2 separate regions of the Homo sapiens genome follow, and region 2 is linked to region 1. Evidence: promoter capture Hi-C in 16 types of primary human blood cells and fetal thymus (Javierre and others, 2016). All regions are on one chromosome and are shown on one strand. Each heading gives the region's core, a stretch centred on a gene start or on the middle of the fragment in contact. The rest is flanking DNA. Distances are from core to core; before and after follow the strand shown. Region 1 holds the start of ANKRD44 (ankyrin repeat domain 44). Region 2 overlaps GTF3C3 (general transcription factor IIIC subunit 3).

Region 1 (2,700 bases), core at 24-2,523:
AATTCTGTAGCTCTAGTTTGCTCTTCAAAGCTGTTCAATGCTGCCCTACAGGTTTGCTCTATGGCCTGCCAGGGGCACATGGGGCTGCCTGGGAGCACTTCCTCTCCACTTGCTTACTTAATTCTCCCTTCTCCAGATCTCAACTCCTGTCACTTTCTCAGGGAAGCCTGCCCTCACCCACCAGTCTGGTCTGATTCCTTTGTTGTGGGTTCACTTCAGAAGCATGTTTTCCCTTGAGATCCCTTATCTCAGTTTGTAATTACATTCATTAGCAGAGACTATGCGGTTTATGTTGGCATCTTCTGAGAGCAGGTTATCTTATTTATGCTCTCCGTTTATTCCCGTGCCTAGCCAGTGCCTGACAAGGTAGGGACTCAGTACATAGCTGTTCAATGAATAAGTGTTTGCTCCAAATTCCAGAACTATCAACAGCTACTATGCTTACGAATATGCCCGTTGTATCTGTAGCCCATGGTGTTTGACAGCTGTCTTCTATTTGTTGAAGAGCTTGGTAACTTGGGATTTTGTAGAGATCAGTAAGGACTGGTGGGAACACCCAAAAGACCCATCAACTCGGTGATTTAGGACTGCTTTGCTTCTCCAGGAACTCCACTCCACCCCCACCAGCAAAAACCAAACCCAGGGTGTTTGAATTTAACAATAGTATGTGTGTGTGCATATGTGTGTGTGTGTTTAGCTGGAAAGTGGCTGGAGAACAAGGTGGAAGGGCCAGAGCTTCTGTTCCCTCCACCCATAAATGTTTGGCAAACACCCTGTAAAGAATCACAATGTGTCCGCTGCCTCCTGGCATTAAACAAAGGGAGCATCATAATTGCGGTCCCTGGGATCTTCGGGGCGCTGCCACCACCTGATTCTGGGTTAGGGGAAGGGGGCGTAACCCCATCTCCCCGGTTAAAGTGGACGGCATGTGAGTGAGAGCCTTTCCTGCCCCCTCGGGGTGTGTCCCCGCGGGCTTCCCCACCCATATGTGTGAGACCCGTCAGGGAGGCCCGCGATCCGCCCAGGGCCCGGGGCCGGCCCGGCCGGGCGCCGCGTGCAGGTGCGGAAGGCAGGCGGCGGCCCGGTGCGGGCGCGGGGGCAGCGCCGGGGGCCGGGCTGCGCGGCTCGGCTGCGGGCGGCAGGAGGCAGCGTCGGCCCAGGCGGCGGGCGGCGAGCGAGCCAGCGCGCGGTGATGTCAGTGGCGGCCCGGCTGGCAGCAGCCGGTACTTCCTGTGGAAAGGCGGGCGGGCTCGGCTGCAAACCCCACTAGCCAGTGTCAGCCTCTCGGCGGGAGGAGGCGGCGGCGGAGGAGGAGCAGGGGGAGGGCTGTCAAATTCGGGAGCCAGATTTTTTCCCTTCTCCTGGCAATCCCTTCCGCTTCCCCGGCTCCCGGCGTGACATCTGCGGGCCGGGGACCTGCATGTGTGTGCGCGCGAAGGAGCGGAAGAATGGCAGTGCTCAAACTCACCGACCAGGTAGCGGGCGGCGGCGCCGGCGGGCGGGACGCGCGGGCGCGGGGCGGCGCGGAGCCCGGCGGGGGGATGGGGGCGCGGCTGGAGCGCGCCCGCGAGCTGTTTACTCGCGGCGAAGGGGAGGACTGTGTGCGGCCGCCGGTGCCTCCGAGAGCCCGCGGCGGCAGCTCCCCTCCGCCGCGCCGTCCCCGCCCTGGGCCGTCGGAACTGCGCGCCCGAGTCTGGGGCAGGGCCCGTGGGCGCTGGGCAGCCGGCGTGCGGGAGTGCGGCGGCCGCGGGCCCGGCGGGGCTGGGGAGGGGGCCGGGGGCTCGAGGTGCTCTCGGGACTCGCACCGCGCCGCGTTGCGTGGGCGCCGCCGGCCCGGGCCCCGGGGAGGAGGACGCTGCACGAAGAGGGAGAAAGGATCGCAGACTGGGACCCCTCCCCAAACCTAGCAGGAGTCCTGCCCAGAATGCGGCTCTTGTGTGGCCGGGCTGTCTTTATTTATCCGTTGGATGTGACATCCGACTTCCTCTTTAGTTGCGCCAGGCTGTGTGCGTGGTGCGGGATGGGGACCCCTGGAGACCGCCCTTTCGGATCGGGCCGGTCCCTCTGAGGAGGAGGTGAAGTCGGCTCGGAGCCTCCACTCACAGGCGGTGGGCTACGGTCTGCCTGTGTCTACCAGCTTTGTTGGCTTTCCTTGCTGAGACACCACACAGGGCAGCTCTGGAGTCCTGGCTTGGAGAGGTGGGGTTATTTGCTGAATCGGATTGACAGTCCTCGCCGCAGGTCTGTGGAATGGTAACAGCCACCTTCGCGGACTCTGCTGCTCTTACATTGACACTAACAGGCACCAAACCAAGTTGCATGACAAAACTCTTTGCAGCTCTTTCCACGAAAAAAGGAAACGGCTTGCTACCCCCACCCCCGTTTATTCGTGGGTAGTGAAAGGAACTTTGTTTTGGGGTCCTGGTAGGCAGAGAGGCAATCTTGACTTTGACTACAGGGTCAGACTTGCCAGCCCTTGGTATTAAATACCTCAAACTTGTCCATGGGTTGCATCTGCTGCCTTGCGTTCTCCAGTTAGTATCCAGCCAGAACATCTTGCAACTGAAGTGCAGTCCGTCACCACAATGATTTGCAATGATTTGTTCTCCTGCCTTTTAGATTCAATTTTTTTAGCTTGTTTTTCCTAAATATTTACAGGTGTTTGGCGGGGTTGGTGATGGGGAAATCACTGAGTTAAAA
Region 2 (2,700 bases), core at 43-2,542, 530 kb after region 1:
TCTTTGCATTATGAAATGGTTTTTCACACATATTTTATTTCCTTTCTTCTTTCCCATTCTTTTAGATAATTACAGATTTTTCTGGAATTGTGCTGGAAAAAAAAACTTCAGAAGAAGGCACCTCAGAAGAGAATAAAGGTTGTAGTTTCCTCTGCTTAGGAAAGTGTATATAATCCTCTCTTGGTCATAAGGTGGCGTTTTATGGTGAAAATTTATTTCATACTGTGGTGAGTTGATAGTTAATGTTCTCATAATAAGTTTTCCCAAGAAGCATTTTTTTCTCAGAGATTTCATATCTTGTGAGTATTGACTTACAAGTAATCTTTAAAAAAATTTGTTTTGAGTCCCTGTATGTCCATTTGAACATGGCATTTTTCATTGACAGTCTTTTTCATTCCTTTTTTTAGGAAAAAAAACGAATTACTGAAGTTTATCAAAAACTTTTAGCACTGAAGCAATTTACTTTTCAAATAGGACCTAAAATGCTCTTACTTAAAACATTTGACTTTAAGCTTAAGCATTCACATAATAAGTAGAAACTAATATGATTACCCTACATTGTTTGAAAACTCAAATATATAATTAGTGATCTGGTTAGAAAGTTATACCTAAGTGTGGCTTGCAGTCTCTTTGTACCATACTCATTAACCTATTCTGTAAAAATATTAACATTCAAGACCCTACATCAAGTTGTAGCAAAATTGATCTTTATGAGCAGAGTATATAACCCGGCTCTTGTAAGAGAATTCCTGTATAGTACCTTCAACCCCTACACTGTGAGGATTTTGATGGAATTTGTGGAAGGACCAAGTGAGTTGGTACTGAGTCCTGCCTGGTTCATAACAGCTCCTTCCGTGGCCTGTCATGATGCCTAAAAATTCCATCATTATGTAATCCTTTGGGCTAAGGCATCATTATTCAAAAACAAAAACTGTTACTTAAAACATGATCCATCCTAATGGTGAGCAGTAATTCACTTACACAAGCCAATCTGTGCTAATTCATAGAGAGTAAGGCCCAAGGTGAGATGTGGGACAGATAAATGTTGAAGTGGAAAGTTTTTGGGGAAGGGAAACCCAGTTCAGTAAGTTTCTTGTAAGGGACTGCTAGGTGTGTGGAGACTACGCAGATGAGTATGATATTTCCTGCTCTCAAGGAAGTGGAGGCGGGAAGAGGCGTTCAAATGAGGTGCATACAGTTTTAAGAGTTGTGTGATAATTTCTGTAGCAAAGTTGATGTTATGGGAAAATAGAGGAGAGCAGTATACAAGGATCAGAAGATGTTTATAGAGGCCCAATTTAAGCAGACACCCATGGGGAGTGTGATCCAGATTGAGTCACAGGGTGTAGGAGCACTGCTTGGAAGAGCAGGACCAGATCACAGGCTGTGGTTGGGGCTGTTGAGTCATCAGGGTGGTGTGAATGAGTAGAATAAGGAGTAGAAATTGTGGATGAAAGCATGGATTAGGGCATGTGAAGGAGGCTTTGCCAGTTTTGATACTTTACTAGGACCTGGCTTAGGCACGAGCCAAGGCCCAATGAAGTTATTATTTTACTGTCATAATTTCTGCTTAAGATTTTTCTTCTTAATTGTGTTGAAAATCTGTCCTTTGTTTGGAAAACTTGGTAGAGAAATACCAAGTTCTGTTCAAGTTTTAATTGTAGATATAATCATTTTGTTGTTTAATATATTTTACTTCCCTCCCTCCCTCCCTCCCTCCTTCCCTCCTTCCCTTCCTTCCTGGCACATATTAACATAAATCAACAACAGGTTAGAGTTTAAGTAGTGGCTTCTTTATTTTTTAGCATGTAAAATAACGGTGCATCTGAAATCTGGCAGCTTAGTGTTGATGAAATAACTTTAAAGAAAAAGATATGTCCAGAAGACTAGGAGATTAAAACAGATACAAAGTGAGCAAAGGTAGTTTTTTAGTATGCATTTTAAAAAATGAGACCATTTATGGTAGATTATGTATTGTCTATTGACAGTCACATTTTTAAATTCTTCTGAATGTGAAAGACCTAATGGGAGTTCAGGAGAATAAAGTATCAGTGACACAAAGACAAGCTTTTTAAAAGATAGTGTATGTTAAATGTTAGTTAATAATATATAAGCTGTAGGGGCTATAAATATATATACTGCTTTCCTTAGCATTGTCAAGTTGCCATTAAAGTATCTAAATACTTACTCTCAATCTCCATACTTACCTGATTGAACTGGTAACAGTTTGTTTACCTGCACAGGTCCCAGACTAGTTTGAGTAGCACTGCCCTGTAGCATTATGAAGTGACCTCCTTACCTTTTTAAATATAGTTGGTCTGAATTCTACATTGTCTCATATTGAGATTGTGACACCTATTTTTTTTTTTTGTTTGCACCTGCCTGCTATACCTTTGTCCTTTTATTTTCAGCTTTCCTGAATCACTTGATTTTAGGTATACATCTTGCATTCAACATAAGGTTGAGTTTTACTTTGTGATTTGATATGAAAGCAGGGTTTTTGACCTATGCATCTATACACACTATATTTTTAAGGCCTATGCCGAGATATAAAGTATTTCATATACTATAATTTTCTTGCTGAAAGTTAAAACACGTAGATATATTTTATTGAACAGTGTCTTAGTCCGTTTGGACTCTCTAACAAAAGACCTTAGACTGGGTAATGTATAAACAACAGAAATTTATTGCTCACAGTTC

What was found. Contacts are between HindIII fragments. The CHiCAGO score rates a contact against its expected background, and 5 or more counts as called.
Region 2: a fragment that was not itself captured here is called in contact with the fragment with the promoter of ANKRD44 in region 1 in 1 of 17 cell types (total B cells); the score reaches 6.3 in total B cells.

What each region holds. Positions count from the first base shown.
Region 1 is chr2:197,309,353-197,312,052 of GRCh38, reverse strand. It overlaps ANKRD44 (ankyrin repeat domain 44), which reads left to right and starts at 1,273. Exons shown (of 28, transcript NM_001195144.2): 1 at 1,273-1,475. The coding sequence starts at 1,449. It overlaps ANKRD44-DT (ANKRD44 divergent transcript), which reads right to left and starts at 987. Exons shown (of 4, transcript XR_923750.3): 1 at 1-987. RefSeq lists silencers at 958-1,037, 1,048-1,367, 1,418-1,797 and an enhancer at 1,921-2,422. The HindIII fragment of the contact is 14,364 bases long and covers 1-2,700 here.
Region 2 is chr2:196,782,295-196,784,994 of GRCh38, reverse strand. It overlaps GTF3C3 (general transcription factor IIIC subunit 3), which reads left to right. Exons shown (of 18, transcript NM_012086.5): 8 at 66-138. Among named protein-coding and RNA genes, the nearest start is that of GTF3C3, 16 kb to the left of the region's middle. The HindIII fragment of the contact is 1,555 bases long and covers 515-2,069 here.